Linked DNA regions of Homo sapiens: all the other regions are linked to region 1. Evidence: promoter capture Hi-C in 16 types of primary human blood cells and fetal thymus (Javierre and others, 2016). All regions are on one chromosome and are shown on one strand. The core of a region is centred on a gene start or on the middle of the fragment in contact, and the rest is flanking DNA. Distances in the headings are between cores, read along the strand shown.

Region 1 (2,575 bases), core at 55-2,554:
CTGCAAGACGCAGAGAGAGGGACCGCCAAGTAATTCGTGGCAAAGAAACGTGTTCTCAGCACTTTGCCCTCCCAGGGCCAAGCAGGGGGCCACTCACCTGCTTGCGTCTCAGGCGTCCCTCCTGGACCTTCCTCCGCAGGAACCGCGTCTTCTTCACCAGCTTCCGGTACTTGTGGTGGTTCATCTTCCGCCGGCGGATCTTCAGCACGTTTTTGCACTGAATTTGAGGCGCATCCGCGACGCCTTCATCCCCCTGCTCGGCCCCTTCCCCTATCTGGCTGGGCGGACACTGGTAGGATTGCGGTGGAGCCACAGTCCCTGCGGTCCCGGTATCCAGTCTGGGCAGGAAGCAGCGGGCCGTGAGCCAGCTCTCCAGGGGGCTGACGGACATCTTCCTGGGGACCAGCATCTCCTCCAGCTCCAGCTGGGCCCCCTTGCGAGGGAGAGAGGCCGCCCTACCTGGGCCGGCCGGCGATGTGCTGTAAAGGGGCCCGCAGACCCGGCTGCCCAGCACTCCAGAGACGGGCCAAGGCGGGCGGCCGCCTGCAGAAAACCAGACGCCACGGTCACCGCTCGCGAGACCACACAGGCCCGTCGGGTTGAGGAGCAGCAGGTTCGTCCCAGCGAGGATCCCCCGCACCTCATTCCTGGCCTGAACCCCTGAGGTTCCCTCTGTGAGCATCGGAAGCTTAGAGGGGAAAGAGTGTGTGTGTGGCCACCGGCCCTGCCCCAGCGGAGCTGCTGAGACCCGCACTCCTAACCAGGTGTGCATCCTCCCATCCGCCCCCGCGCGGCTTCCTACCTGCCCAAGGAACGGCCCTCAACAGCTGGGAAGTCAGGCGCCCCAGGAGCATGGTCTGTGGGCGGCGGCCACAGGTCCCAGGGGAGCTGGAACACAAGTGCCCGTTCAGGTCAGGCGGCAGCGCCTTCAGTAGTCGCGGGCGGGCCGGGACTGGGGCGTCTGGTCCCGCCGCGACCCTCGCTTCCCTTCTCCCTCCGCCACCCCAACCCACAAGGAGGACTTTGCTTCCAACACAGCTCGCGCCCCGAGGCTCCCAAGCCCCCGACGCGGGCGGTGTCGCGCTCGGACGCACCGAAAGGTCCCAGAACGGGGAGGCCGGCCCCCTCCCCGGGTTCACCCCCGCGCGAATCGCGTTGCCTGGCGCCCGGACCCTCTCGGCTGGACCCCGGGCCCGCCTGCCGCAGCGCCCGGCGCCCTCAGGCCTCCCGCTGACCCTTCCCAAGCCCGACCTCGACGCGGCTCAAATTGACCGTTCTGCGGCCGCCCTCGGGCACTTCCGGTCCGTCCCCAAGTCGGCCCCGATCGGCAGCGGCCACCCGGCGGTTCCTACGCACAGCGCCCGCTGGCGTCCTCGCGGCCCCCGATTCTGCATTGGCTCAGGCCCCGCCGGGCCCGAAAGGCGACGGTTTCCGGTTAGTGGAATCACGGTCCCAGTCCTCGCGCGGTTCCTCAGCTCCGCCTGGTCCCTTACGGAGGCAAAAAACTACATTTCCCACAATCCCAGGGGGTGCGGGCCCTGGATATACCCGCAGGTCCAGAATCGTTTCCGGACCACCCAGGGGCCGGATTCCCAACGGGCCGACGGAAGTGCGGGCTCAAGACTACGGAAGTGACGTATCTGGCAACGGAAGTGGAGTTACGTGGAAGGCGGAAGCGTCTAGAGCTATTTCCCCCGTTTTTGCTAGAGACCAAGGACCCGGAATAAGCACTGAGCCTGCGGTACCGGGCCTCCCCGACTCCTCATTCCTGGGGTTAAAAAAAAAAAAATAAGACGCAGGCTGGGCGCGGTGGCTCAGGCCTGTAATCCCAGCACTTTGGGAGGCCGAGGCTGGTGGATCACCTGAGGTCAGGAGTTCGAGACCAGCATGGCCAACATGGTGAAACCCCGTCTCTACTAAAACTACAAAAATTAGCCTAGCGTGGTGGCAGGCGCCTGTAATCCCAGCTACTCGGGAGGCTGAGGCAAGAGAATCGCTTGCGCCCAGGAGGCAGAGGTTGCGGTGAGCCGAGATCGCACCACTGCACTCCAGTCTGGGTGACATAGATCCTGTCTCAAAAAAATAAATAAATAAATAAAATAAAAATCAGACTCACACTTTTTGTCTGAGAACTAAAAGCAGCCTCTCTGGTGGATTGGGTTTGGCTGAGCCCCTAATGATGCTCCCCAGAGTAGGCGCTGCCAACGTGTAGCTTCACCTTTCTACTCCAGACAGGCCCCTTTGACCTCCGTGAGGTTGGCTAATATAGAGACCCCAGCATGGACTTGCAGGGGCGCCTGGTGGGAGAGGGGTGTGGAGCAGAGCCTGCTGGGCCTGCTCGGAGACTTGCCTTGCAGGAGGGTCTTCCAGGGACGCTTAGCAGGAAGTGGAAAGGCCAGGTCATCTGCCGGGCCCAGCCTGGCTAAGCAGTGAGTGACAGGTAGGATAGGCCAGTGTGAGGACATAAAGTTCAGGCTCCAGGCCCACCTCTACAACTGAGGTCCCCAGATGACTCTACGTTACCCCTCAGAGGGGCTACTTGGGACTCCAAGCAGGAAGGTTTACGAACGTTATT
Region 2 (2,500 bases), core at 1-2,500, 390 kb before region 1:
GCCCAGTTGGGAGAGGTGGGGCCCTGGGGGGACTGCTGCCACTGCTGTCCCCTTGGTCAATGTCACTGGACAAGAGCTCGTCCCCAGAGGCCAGGCCGGCCTGCAGGAGGCCACACTCATCGGCGGTGGCTGAGAACTCGGCCCAGTCCTGGTCACTCAGCTGGACGCTGTACTGGAAATTTTCCATGTGGAGTCAGCAGAGGCACTGGAGGGTAGCAGAATGGGTCCGGTGGGGTCTTCATGGGTTCAGGCCCCGGGCACCACCCTGCACATGCCGCCCCTGCCCCACGAGACCTGGGAGCTCCCACCGCCTCGGGGCTCCATCCATGCCCTGAAAGGAAGAGAACAGCATCTCGAGGGGAGGGCCGCGCTTCCTTCAAACCTAGTGGTGACGATTTCCAAGTTAGAAGATCCCCAGCTCCCATGACCCTAGTTCCCAACGCACCCCAAATGATAGCTGTGTGATGATGCGGTGTTACATTCCTAGAATCAAGGATGATTTTCTACCAGTGAAGCTATAAAACCAGCCGTCCTCAGGTTTGAATGCTCTTTCCCATCACACCTCAGCTGGGGCAGCCTCACCTCCTCCACCTTCTGCCAGAGCTGTCTTTGCACGGCAAAGCACCTTTCAGGGTCCACCCGATGGGACCAGTGCCCTCGGGGGTGGGCAGCCCTGGTCCATCCCAGTGCGCCCCAGCTGGCAGCCGGCCACAGGAAAGGTTTACAGGGCCCAGCAGGTGCCCAGCCCTCGGCGATGACCTTCCGATCGCCTTGGCTGGGCCAGGCTATTCTCTGAGCTCACCAGGTGGTGCTGGCCAGAGCTGGCCCAAGTCAGCACGGAGAGCCTGGGCAGGAGGTGCAGGCTGCGGTGGGTCTCTTGACCCAGCAGCCACCTCGGGCCGTCCTCGAGGTCTGCACCACGATCCAGGCCTGCCCGGCTGCCCGGGGTGCCTTCCTTTGCCCCGTCTCAGAGAAGCAAGGAGACCCTAGCCAGCTGTCGGGTCTACCCCTAGAGGGGGCCGCCCTCGGCCTCAGGTCAGCCCCTCTGGACCCAGGGGTGGGAAGTCACTTTGGTGGGGACGGTCCTGAGACGGAGGCCAGGGCATGGTGGCTTCCCACCCACTGACCTTCGCCCTCCTCTCTGGTCTCTTGAGAAGCCTCTGTGGGGGTTGTTACCATTGGGGCCCCTTGGGTCAGGAGCCAGCAGCTGACCATGTCCTACCTGGGTCCCGGCGGCCGAGCTGGGCGTCTGAGCTGCCCGTCCTGGGTCGGCATGGTGCTAGGCTGTGGCTGCACAGGCTCCTCCCCCTGTGCCAAAAATACCACGTCCCTGTGGCCACATGAGACTCGTGCCAGCCATCAGGGTCCAGGCCACAAATAGATGGCATTTGAGGGCCCTCCAGCTACAGTACATGAGGACGACTTCCTGGCACGGGGCCGGGCTGAGGTGGGGTCAGACACGGGCCGGAGGACGCTGACCAGCAGGCAGCACCGCTCAGTTCCCGTGCCTCCGCCACCCGCGGTGAAACCTCAGACCTGCCCTCCCTGCCGCCCCTGGAATGTTCCTGGCCTGCTTCTGAGATGGCCTCTGTGTCCCGGCCAGGGCTTGTGCCTCCCGGTCCTGACCTCTGGGGCTCATGTGAGGGTGAGTGACGCCAGGGAGCGTCAGCGTCAGAGCCCCCACGCCTGGCTCCGCTCAGCTGCACCCTCCAGGCCGTCCTGACCTTGGGGTTCACGGTGCCCATTCCCAGGCAGGTTCCGAGCCAGAGGGGACAAGAGGACAGGGCGAGGGATCCAACAATAAACATCCGATCAAACAGGCAGGTGAGCTCAGCTCCGATGGCAGCACGTCCTGAGAAAGAAGTAGGGAGAGGCGTGGCTGGAGGGGCCGGAGACCTCTCTAAGGAGGAGGCTTGGACCGAGAAGCTCCTGAGAGTTCAGGGCACGATACTAGGAGACTGGGGTGTGCGCCGTGAGGGGTGGCAGTGAGAGCTGGGCGTGCAGAAAGTGCATGCCTGGTGCCATACGATGCTTTTCCAGAAAGTAGCTGCCACGAGACCACAGGACAAGGCGTCCCGCCACGCAGGGCCGGCCTGACTTGAGCTTTCACAAGTGGAATCGCACCCTGCATCCCTTTCTGCATCTGTGTCCTCGGGCCCACGCCGTGCTCTGGAGACAGCTGCCATGAGGGCCGCGGGCGACTGCCCGGGCGGGTGAGGCTGTCCTGTGTGAACGTGCCACGCGGCTGTGCCGTTTCCCGTGGGTGGCGATGTGGGTCGTTTCCAGTTTGCAGCTACCACACACGGTGCGGCTGTGAATATCTGGGAACATTCCTTTCGGCGAACCTCTCACATTTCCAGGACGCTTGGGGTCAGCGTCAGAAGGTGCCGCCCCGTTCCCCAGGTGGCTGCGTGGCCGTGCTCCAGGCTGGAGTTTCCCAGGAGCTGCGCATCTGCTTCTGTGTGGCGTCTCTCGGCTGCGGCCGCCTCCCTGTGCCTCC
Region 3 (2,575 bases), core at 45-2,544, 370 kb before region 1:
TTCCTGCCCCTGGGCAGCAGCTGGGGTCCTTGCTGAGCAGAGGCAGGAGGGGCCACCAGCACTTGCCTCTGCTCTTCTGGAGAGGAAGAGACCCCCCTGCTCCCTGCCCCCTGCCAGGGAGCCCACTCCAGGATCTCCGGGGACTGTGTTCCTCCCACCTTCTTTGCCACAGGACAGCTCCCATCTGTGTGTCTGTCTCTCTGGGTCTGTGCCCTTGGCCTCTGATGGTCCCCTCCCTGCCTCTCGAATCTGGCCTCGATTTGTGGTAGGGGCCTCAGGGTTCCTGAGGGCCTTGGGGTTCCCTTGCTCTGAGTGTGGGGGTGGATCCTGGGCTGCAGCCCAGGATGGTGCCGACACCTGGGTTGGGGGCAGGTTGCGTTTTTCAGAGACGGCCGTGATAGTATCTCCCATCCCCATATCTTGAAATGCCTTCTACATGAGACTCTGTGACAGTCTCAGCTGGGAAGAATGGGGTGTTTGGCAGGACATGACTTCTGAGGCTGACTTGGAAGACGCCATGCGTACCTCGCTGTCCTGGGACAGTCGCTCTTGGAACCCAGCTGCCGTGCTGGGAGGGAGCACGCCCTGGCCTCAAGGAGAGGCCCCGTGGAGGAATCAGCATTGGATTCCAGACTCCTGAGCAGCTTCCGGCGCAGGTCCCAGCGCGCCCCGTTCCAAGGCTGCCCGCACACAGTAGGGTGGTTGCTGAGCGTGCTGTTTTGGGGTGGTTTGTGGTGCGGCACTCAAGACTGGAATAGTGGAGGTGGGCTGGGGCCCTGACCCAGGGAGAGTGACCCTTCCCTCCTCACCCCTGCTCCCTCCTCGCTGATCCCTTCCTCTCTTCCACAGAGGCAGAGGCTCAGCGACTTCCCCACCCCTCCCCCCCATCTAACGGGTGCTTCTTGGGAGCCACTGAAATCCAGCCGACCTCCTGGCCCTGAGTGGGTCAAGCTCCAAATGGCGGGTGGCCCCGGGGCATCTGCACAGCCCCCTGTTAGCTAAGGGGGGTGACTGATGAGGACATTCACACGCCAGTGGGGAGACTGTGGGGAAAACCGGGGTGTCTTCTAGGCTGGACCTGGGGGGGCCTCAGCCTTGTTGGGGGGTCTCCTCACATTGGGCCACTGTGGCCGCACTCCATGACCACAGCCAGTGTCCCCAAAAGGCCTGTGAGGTGCTGGCTGTGACCTCCCCTCCCAACCTCTGACCCAGAGGTGGCGGCTGCCATCTCGCCACGGCCCTCAACACCCCCCTCACACACTGACTCCTGACATCAGAGACCTGTAGCCACCCCCTGCAGGTGGTCCTCAGCATGGTCCCCAACTCCTGCCCAGGGCAGCGGGCTGTGCACTCAGGCAGCTGGGGCCAAAGCCACCGAGGAACCAAGGCTGGGGTGGGGGTGGGTTTCTCTCCCGGAGAGCCGAGGTGGGCGCAGAGCTGTTCCTGGGTGTTTGCTGGGATTGTAGTGACAGAAGGCCAGGGCTGCAGGAATCCAGGCTGCCAGAGAGAGACCAGGACTCAGGCAGAAGCAGCAGCACCAGGCTGGTGCCACTGCCACCCCACCTGCATGCCTTCTCAGCAGCGGTGGGAGCTGTGTCTCCAAGCAGGATGGTACTGGAGTCTCCCCACCCTGCCTGTCTGGGATGCCCTCCCAGCCTGTTCCTGCTCCCGGCAGGCGCTGCTTTTCTCTCTGCTGTACCAGGACGAGGTGGGTGCCCTTGTCCCTCCTCACTGGCACTCCCAGACTGCTTTCCTTTTCCACCAAAACCACCCCCGCTTTGTGACCAGACCTCACTGTGTTGAAGTCATCGGCACCCCTTTCCTGCAGGAGGGGACACCTGCTCCCTGTCACTCTCCCGGCCATGCCTTCAAAATCCACACCAGCAATTCTCCAACTTTGACTTCCTCTCTTTCAGGGGTCCTGTCCCCTCCCCACTTACCCCACTGGGTCCTTTCTCCCAACTGCACCCCTCCACGGTCCAGCCTCTCCACTCTCTCTGCCCCCCTCCCAGCTCCCGCCTCTGCTGTCCGCCAGCCCTGAGATCTCGGGCAGATGCACAGCCTGCATCTGCGGCTTCCTCCTCCCCTGTCTGTTCTCTCCTTATCAAGAGAAGCCTATCTGGCCGGCCATTGTGTCTGCCCCTCACCCTCCCTCCTTCCTGTTCATGTGGGCAGACCACAGCCCGTGTGGAATCCCTACCTTCTTGGTGGCTTAAGCACCACCTGCCTATTCTTTCCGTAGTGGGGATCAGGGCAGTGCCAGTGGCTTCCTGGGGCCTCTCACAGCCTGCGGCCCTGGGCCAAGGTCAGCTGGGTGGGAAGGGCCCAAGGGTAGCCATGCTGGACACCTGGGGCTGCTGTCCCTCAGCTGCCGGGCTCTCTGCCAGAGCCGTGCAGCCTGGAGTCCTACCCACTCTCAGTCAGCTTCCTCCTAACACATGGCCAGCGTTCCAGGAGGGCGAAGTGGAAGCCTAGGGACTCTTGAGGCCAGGATCCAGAACGCACATAGTAAAATCTCCACCACACTCCATCGGCCAAAGCAAGTCACAGCAGCCAGATTCCAGAGGAGTCGAAG
Region 4 (2,575 bases), core at 46-2,545, 340 kb after region 1:
TGTCAGAGACAAGGTCTCTCTACGTTGCCCAGGCTGGCGTCATGCGGTCCTCTGGCCTTAGCCTCCCACGTAGCATATGCTACCACACCCAGTTCTGGATTGGCTGATCTGAATCGGCCCTACCCAGAAGTCTGCCCCCAACAATTTTTGTTCATTCACTCTCCTGTCTTTACCTTCTGGGAAATCAATATGACAGCCCAAATTTCATCTACCAACCTCCACTTCTATCCCAAGCTCTACTCTCGTGGGACAAGACACACTCAATGTCTGGCACAGGGCGTGGCATACATGAATGTTTCACACACTAACAGGAACTAGGCCAACTGAAACCTTGCTCACCCAGCAGCGGTCTCGGACCTTGACCCCTGGGCCTCAGTGTCTCCCACACCCTTCGGCATCAACAAGAACCAGCGCCCTCTCATCATCTTTACATGCTGTGTACCCAGCCCTGGCTGCTGGCAAACATCGCTGCACACGCCCTTCCGCTTCAGACTCCTCTCTTCCTGGAGCAGCTTGCAAGCTTTCTGTGGACTCACTCTGAAGGCGGAGATGGGCCTGCTCGCACCTGGCCTACAGCCTTTTTCCTGGTTCACAGAACAGATCTGGGGCTACACCGATGTTCTTTCTTGGGAATCTGGCTCATAAAGGGGAACGAATATACAGACTAATGGCCAGGAGTCCTAGGAGTCCAGTGTCCCGATTTCCAGACTGTTTCAAGGTTTTTGGGATCTCCCTTCTCCTTTTTTTGAGACAGTCTCACTCTGTCAACCAGGCTGGAGTGCAGTAGCATGGTCATAGCTTACTGCAGCCTTGACCTCCCAGGCTCAAGGGATCCAACCACCTCAGCCTCGTAAGTGCTGGAATTCTAGCGTGAGCCACTGCGCCCGGCGGGACGTGCAGATTTCTGATCCCTTCATTGTCTTCCCTCAATCAAATCACACCCGTTCTTACTTCCAGATGCAGTGAAAACTCACTCCCTCAGGACAGTTCTCTTGGTCAGCCTCGTCCAGCGTTCACTGTGCTGTTTCCATGTCTACCACTTCTGCAACAAATGTGACTTCTATTGCCAAATTCTTCTTCATTGCTGTGACAGGACACACTACCACGGCCCTTTCATAAAGTCCTCAACTGACCCAGCCCACTCACCTTTCTCTCCTGGAATGCTCCCTTGCCATTTCCCTTCTCTTCTGTCTTTCCCATTCCCGGCGAGCTTTATCCTGTTCTTCTCGATGTCGTTTCCGACGTTCGTGCTCTCTTTCTTTCACTCTAGCATGCTTCCCTAATGAGAAATAAAGTGTCATGCAAAGAAACCTCACTTCAAAAATTTCACGAGGCCGGGCACGGTGGCTTACGCCTGTAATCCCAGCACTTTGGGAGGCCGAGGCGGGTGGATCACCTGAGGTCAGGAGTTCAAAACCAGCCTGGCCAACATGGTGAAACCCCGTCTCTACTAAAAATACAAAAATTAGCTGGGCGTGGTGGCAGGCACCTGTAATCCCAGGTACTAAGGGAGGCTGAGGCTGTAGAATCACTTGAACCTGGGAGGTGGAGGTTGCGGTGAGCCGAGATCGTGCCACTGCACTCCAGCCTGGGCGAAAAAGTGAGACTCCATCTCAAAAAAAAAAAAAAAAAAAAAAAAAAAAAAAAAAAAAATCACATGAAAATGAAATTAAATCAAGAACATTAAATATTTAAATAATGATGTTAAGTAATCCTAATCTTTTTTTTTTTTTTTTTGAAGAGACAGGGTCTCACTATATTGGCCAAGCTGGTCTTGAACTCCTGGGCTCAAGTGATCCTCCATCCTTGTCCTCCCAAAGTGCTGGGATTACAGGCCTGGGCCACTGCACCCAGTCGAATAATCATGATTTTATGTTAAATAAAAAACTTTGAAAATAGAAAACTATCTGCAGTAAGCGTCTAATTATGAAGAAAGAAGAAAAAAGAAAAACAATTCTGCTATCACAGAAGAGAATTGTAATATTCATCTTTTAAAAATTTTCTATACTGAATAAACTATAATTATCAGTTTTATAATACAAAAACCACTCTTCACAAAGACTACAGAACAAAGCTTTGCTATCAGTGGGCTTCTCCACTGTGCAATGAAGCCACATTAATTAATCAAGCGTATTTATAATAATGAGATTTCAATCGGGCTCCAGGTCCAATTTTCCTAACACCCGTAAGAATCTCCTGATGTTGGTACGAGATCAAACTGCTCAAGCCTAACCCATTCTTTGGACTTGAGCAAATACCCATTTTGGGGTGTGTTTTTCTCCTATACTTGTTGAATTCAGGTCATTTTAAATGTAAACAAACTGCTCCCAAACAATATAATGGGGGAGAGAAAACCCCAGAGGAAAAATGGACTAGCCATTCTGAATGGTCTGTGACACACGCACGCTTTCAGCTAGAGTTTGCTCTCTCTGGTTTTCGGTCTGTGACACACGCATGCTTTCAGCTAGAGTTTGCTCTCTCTGGTTTTCGGTCTGTGACACACGCACACTTTCAGCTGGAGTATCCTCTCTATAGCCCCTCTGAACGGTCTGTGACACACGCATGCTTTCAGCTA
Region 5 (2,575 bases), core at 47-2,546, 320 kb after region 1:
ACTTGGATTTAAAATGGGATAAAGCCATAGGAGCTGCTCGTCCCACCACAGGAATCTCAACGCCGGGTTACTGACAAAGCGTCACTTTGCACCTCGTCCAACTGTGCAGACCTCTCCTAGCCAGGCCCCTGCACCAGAGGTTAAGAATCCGTGCCCCTGGTCAGGAAGTCCAGGTGGGTTCAAACGGCCAGCAGGGAATTTCAGGCAAAATGTGTCCCAAATCTTCAAACCATGCCCCAGAACTCAGACCTCCCCCTGGGAGTTCGTCCCAAGGAAACCACCTGCAAGAGGCTCAGGCTGCAGGGGACACTCCGCTTCCAAAACCCGGAAGCTGGAGACCACACAAGTGCCCAACGCCAAAGGCACCCCGTGGAGGGACGCCCTGTGCCCTCCCCCGACCAGGTGACCCGCTGCGCCCTACACATCTTCACCAGGAAACATCTGTTATCGATGTGGACGAAGCGCAGCCTGCACTCCCAGATCCGCTCATTTTCGTTCTGCCCTCCGTTTTACGATTCGCCTACACTGAAAATGCGTGAGTGGAGTGGAAAGCCTTCCTACTCCTGCCTCAGCGACCCCTTCTAAAATACTGCCTCGTTTGGCCTGAAAATGTGATTTGCAGGCTTCCTGAGCAAAGTAGATTTCACTCCATTAAAGAAAAAAAAAAAGAAAAGGCACCGAACGGGGCTCGGCTGTCGGGAGTTTTGCTTTAGTTTTTTGCGTGTTTTGTTTTGTGTTTTTTTGTTGTTGTTGTTCTTTTTGCGGCCACGCACACCGCGTTCCCAGGCTTCAGGGCGTGGGGGTCGCCGTGGACTCCCGGACGTGAAAACGCTTAAAGCCAGCTGGGAAAACCCCACCAGCGTTTTCCGCGCACAGCGCCAGCCATAGGAAAGGACCCCCAGGAGCGAATCCGGGCAGGGAAACCCCGGACGCCCGCACACTCAGCATCAGTACCGGCACCCAGCACCCAGCACCGAGCACCGAGCACGCAGCACCCAGCACCGATCACCGAGCAGAGCACCCCGCACGCAGAACCCACCGAGAGCCTGATGCAGTCTCCGCCGCAGGCATAGCGCTAGGCCCCGGCGCCTTCACAACAAAGGGACGCTGGCGGGCGGGGCCTGAGAGGCGCGCGGTGGAGGGGCCGGGCGCGAGGCCGCGGAGACAGCTCGGAGCTCGGCACTGGGGAGTGGCACAGCGCTGGCGGATCCAGGTGGGCTTCACGGGGCGCCCGCGGGACCGGAAATGACGCGCAGAACCCTGCATCGGGCTCCTCGCTGCCCCGCGGGCGCCGCTCCTCAGTGCCCCAGAGCCACGGAGCCGGGGAAACGCGCCGCGGCCCACAACGCCCCCGCGGCTGCCCGTTGGTTCCGCCCGGGCCGTTCTACTCCAGGCAGACGGGAGGAGAAACACGGCGCGCTCAGCGTCCCCTCCCCCGTTGGTTCTGCTCGGGCCCTTCCACTGCAGGCCGACGGGGGTGGAAACACGCAGTTTTTTTTTTTTTTTTAAGGTCTAGGGTAACACGGGGCTTTTAAGTGCCTCTCCGCTGCCGCCTGGTGGTCCAGCCCGGGCCGTTGCAGTGCAGCCACACGGGGAGGGACACGGCGCGCCGAGTGCTCCGGGCGGCCGCACGTTGGTTCCGCCCGGGCCGTTCCACTGCAGGCAGAGGGAGAGGACGACGGTGCGCGTAGTGCATCCCCGTGGCCCGTTGGTTCCGCCGGGGCCGTTCCACTGAAGGCAGAAGGGGGGGGACCGTGGCCCCACCCCCCGCGGCAGCCCGTTGGTTCCGCCCGGGCGGTTCCGCCCGGGCTGTTCCACCAGCGGCACTTCAGGGCGGGATCGGCCAGTCTGTGGAGGCAGCGGCCTCTAAGCCCCGGAGGGTTTACTGCCCAGGTTTGGGTTCCAGGAATAAGAAATCCACTGAATAGGCTTAACTTAGAAGACACAAAGGCGCCTCCTGGCGGAAGTGGCCACGCTCCGCCCAGCCTGAGGGAAAGCTGCTCTGACAGCTGGGCCCGGAGCTGCGGGGGGCGGGGCCGCCGCGCGGGGTGAGGACTCGCCTCAGGGCGCTGATTGGCTGGTGGCGCGCTCCGGGGCGGGGCCTTCGTATCCAGGCTGGCGTCGGGGCTGCCGCGGGACATCCGGAGCAGACACCCGCGGGCGCGCCTGCGGCCCCGAGGACCCCCGGCTCCGGAGCTTCGTCGAGCGTTTTCCTAGCGTTACTTTCCCAAATAATTTTCAGGAATGAAGTTACGGCTAAAGGGCTCTTTAGAGATTACTTTTGGGCCGGGCCCGGTGGCTCACGCCTGTAATCTCAACACTTTGGGAGGCCGAGGCCGGCGCATCACGAGGTCAGGAGCTTGAGACCAGCCTGGTATGGCCAACGTGGTAAAACGTCGTCTCTACTAAAAATACAAAAATTGGCCGGGCGTGGTGGCGGGCGCCTGTAATCCCAGCTACTCCGGAGGCTGAGGAAGGAGGATCACCTGAACCCGGGAGGCGGAGGTTGCAGTGAGCCGAGATGGCGCCACTGCACTCCAGCCTGGCGACAGAGCGAGACTCCCTGTCAAAAGAA
Region 6 (2,575 bases), core at 40-2,539, 310 kb before region 1:
CTTCTCACAATGTCCCTTCAGCACCTGACCCTATACCTGCCGGTTATTCCTAGGTTATATTATTAATGCAACAGAGTAATATTAAAAGCTAATGATTAATAATGTTTATAATAATGATGGATAATTGTTCATGATCATCGCTGTATCTAATTTGTATTATGACTATTCTTATTCTATTTTCTTTATTATACTGAAACAGTTTGTGCCTTCAGTCTCTTGCCTCGGCACCTAGGTACTCTTCCGCCCACACGGGACGGGCTGGGGGTGGCCATCTCGGGCTCTGGGAAGGGGCCGGGGCTGTGAGCTGAAGGCTCCATCACCTCCAGATGCTGCAGCAGCAGGAATGCCGGTTCCTGTACCCTCGGAAGGAGGGGCAGAGTGTGGAGAACAAGCCCAAGAATCACTACAAGAACATCCTTCCCTGTGAGGGCGGAGGCCAGGGCGTCACCCGTCGGGCCTGGGGGAGGTGGGGGGCAGGCCGAGCATCTGCCACCGCTGACCTGAGGCTCCCCCTTGCATACCCTGGACCCTCCATCTCTGCTCACCACAGGGTCTGCGGGCAAAGAGGCAGGGTGAGGCCCACGAGCTGTGCCCTGGAGAACTGAGCGGCACCTCCCTTCCCAGTTGATGCTACCCTTGAGTCATCCTGCTCAACGAGGATGACAGCGGGCCCGGAGCCGACTACATCAGGGTGGGTGTGTGCGGGAGGCGGGGCCTGGGCCCATTGCTCCTGGGGGGCTCAGGAAGAACCAGGGTCCCCAAGGGAGGGGTGGGCGGCAGTCTCCAAGGGGTCCTCAGAGAGGCTGGACGGGCATTGGTCCTCAGCCCCTTGCTGGCCTGGAGTGAGGAGTGTGTTTAAGCCACCAGGGCTCTTTGCATAATATTTGTGTGTCGTTTGCATATCATTTGCATAGCATTTGCATGGACTTGTTTGTCCTCTGTTAACAGCAGCAGTTGGCCTCATTCCCTTTCAGACTGACCCTGAGGAGGAGCCGGGCCATGGCAGGGGCAGGGTGGACATCCCTTGTGGCCCTGCCCCGCCGCACCTGCACCTGCACAGCCCGCGTGGGCCCGCCCCGCCGCAGCTGAAGTGCACCACCATGGGCCCGGCCCGCGGCTCGCGGCTCGCGGCTCTGGGCCCGGTTCACCTCGTCCCGGAAGCCGAGGACGCCGGCGGGATCGGTCCGGACGCCGTAGTCCGGCCAGCCGAAGTACTGGAAGTGCTGCACCGTACGCTGTGGCTCCTCCCCGCGGGGCAGGGCCTCGCGGGCGCAGGGTGTACATCGCCTGCAGGGCTGTCTGCAGGCCTGTCTGCAGGCCACGGTGGCTGCTTTCTGGGCCACGGTGCACCAGGAGAACACGCGTGTCATCGTCATGACCACCAGGGAGATGGAGCGGGGCCGGGTAGGGGTGCGGTGCCAGTGCTCCCAGTGCCCATCCCACCCCGTGCATCTTCGGCTGCCCAAGGCCCTTCCCGACCAGGCCAAGGAGGCTGTGGGACGCCGTGGGAGTGGGGAGGCTCCCACAGAGCCCCGTGGCTGCACGTACACACCTGCGTCTCTGCAGGTCGCAGGGGCGGGGTGCCGAGGTGCTGCCAGCAAGGCTGATGCAAAGCGCTCCCCTCGGAACAAGTGTTTCCGGGACTGGCCAGAGCTGCCCGGCAGCCAAGAGTTCGGCCGTGTGCACATGCGCGTCCTCGGCAAGGGCCAGGCCCAGGGCTACTGCGTGCGGGAGCTGCAGGTGTGGCGGCCGGGCCAGGTGAGCCTGGCGGCTGTGGAGCGTGCCTGCTGTCGGCCTGCACTGGGAGACCCCACACCTGCCTGCATCCAACCCCACTGCCTTTGGGGGCTTCCACACCCCTCAACCCAGGAGGTGCATTCCAAGCCTGGACAGGGGTCACTGACGTGGCCACATTCTCAGCCCTGGGCTGGCGGCCGCTCCTCCCACACACCTCTCCAACTGCAGCTTTGGTCTCCGTTGTATACCAGAGACGCCCATTTCTGCTCCGGGCAGATTACCTCGTGTTCCCTCCAGCCCCCGCCCAGTGTGTGTGGGGGGGTCCTCCAGGACCCCATGGACCCCTCACATTTGGTTTTTCCTTATAAAATAACTGTCCTCACAGCCTGCTTCGCCCGCCCCCAGCTCCCTCTTCCCTTCCCCAGGCACCTGAGCCACCTGGGGCCATCTCGGCGCCCCCTCCCCATTTCCTTCCTCCTCCTCCTGCTCGCCTTGGCTCCCGCAGCCCCTCCGCTTGGGCACTCCCGGAAACCCAGCTGTGCCTCAGCCTCCTCCTCCCACCCTGGGGTCACACTCACCGCTTGCCCCGCTCAGGAGGAGCCACAGCGTACGGTGCAGCACTTCCAGTACTTCGGCTGGCCGGACTACGGCGTCCGGGCCGATCCCGCCGGCGTCCTCGGCTTCCGGGACGAGGTGAACCGGGCCCAGAGCAGCAAGCCGCGGGCCGGGCCCATGGTGGTGCACTTCAGCTGCGGCGGGGCGGGCCCACGCGGGCTGTGCAGATGCAGGTGCGGCGGGGCGGGGCCACGCGGGCTGTGCAGGTGCAGGTGCGGCGGGG

The links. The method cuts DNA at HindIII sites, captures the fragments that hold promoters and counts their contacts. A CHiCAGO score of 5 or more calls a contact.
Region 2: the fragment with the promoter of PERM1 here is called in contact with the fragment with the promoter of AURKAIP1 in region 1 in 3 of 17 cell types (activated CD4 T cells, total B cells and naive CD4 T cells); the score reaches 11.2 in activated CD4 T cells.
Region 3: a contact is called between a fragment that was not itself captured here and the fragment with the promoter of AURKAIP1 in region 1, in 1 of 17 cell types (total B cells). The highest score is 5.1, in total B cells.
Region 4: a contact is called between a fragment that was not itself captured here and the fragment with the promoter of AURKAIP1 in region 1, in 2 of 17 cell types (total B cells and naive CD8 T cells). The highest score is 8.0, in total B cells.
Region 5: a contact is called between a fragment that was not itself captured here and the fragment with the promoter of AURKAIP1 in region 1, in 1 of 17 cell types (fetal thymus). The highest score is 7.0, in fetal thymus.
Region 6: a contact is called between a fragment that was not itself captured here and the fragment with the promoter of AURKAIP1 in region 1, in 1 of 17 cell types (total CD4 T cells). The highest score is 5.6, in total CD4 T cells.

What each region holds. Positions count from the first base shown.
Region 1 is chr1:1,373,903-1,376,477 of GRCh38, forward strand. It overlaps AURKAIP1 (aurora kinase A interacting protein 1), which reads right to left and starts at 1,305. Exons shown (of 4, transcript NM_017900.3): 1 at 1,252-1,305; 2 at 803-888; 3 at 98-543. The coding sequence starts at 854. RefSeq lists silencers at 1,046-1,095, 1,116-1,295 and an enhancer at 1,091-1,996. The HindIII fragment of the contact is 3,347 bases long and covers 687-2,575 here.
Region 2 is chr1:980,843-983,342 of GRCh38, forward strand. It overlaps PERM1 (PPARGC1 and ESRR induced regulator, muscle 1), which reads right to left and starts at 1,251. Exons shown (of 4, transcript NM_001394713.1): 1 at 1,223-1,251; 2 at 1-331. The coding sequence starts at 187. The HindIII fragment of the contact is 23,754 bases long and covers 1-2,500 here.
Region 3 is chr1:1,003,012-1,005,586 of GRCh38, forward strand. No RefSeq gene overlaps it. Among named protein-coding and RNA genes, the nearest start is that of HES4, 4.2 kb to the left of the region's middle. The HindIII fragment of the contact is 5,463 bases long and covers 1-2,575 here.
Region 4 is chr1:1,715,200-1,717,774 of GRCh38, forward strand. CDK11A (cyclin dependent kinase 11A) reads right to left here. Exons shown (of 20, transcript NM_024011.4): 5 at 1,147-1,279. Among named protein-coding and RNA genes, the nearest start is that of CDK11A, 7.9 kb to the right of the region's middle. The HindIII fragment of the contact is 1,554 bases long and covers 519-2,072 here.
Region 5 is chr1:1,691,410-1,693,984 of GRCh38, forward strand. It overlaps SLC35E2B (solute carrier family 35 member E2B), which reads right to left and starts at 1,386. Exons shown (of 10, transcript NM_001290264.2): 1 at 1,040-1,386. RefSeq lists an enhancer at 921-1,215 and silencers at 1,050-1,209, 1,780-1,859. The HindIII fragment of the contact is 3,344 bases long and covers 1-2,575 here.
Region 6 is chr1:1,066,246-1,068,820 of GRCh38, forward strand. LOC100288175 (a long non-coding RNA gene) reads left to right here. Exons shown (of 4, transcript NR_148960.1): 4 at 1-208. LOC105378948 (a long non-coding RNA gene) reads right to left here. Exons shown (of 5, transcript NR_168433.1): 1 at 2,316-2,575; 2 at 1,553-1,795; 3 at 501-553; 4 at 221-353. Among named protein-coding and RNA genes, the nearest start is that of RNF223, 6.8 kb to the right of the region's middle. RefSeq lists a silencer at 2,469-2,575. The HindIII fragment of the contact is 4,423 bases long and covers 1-2,575 here.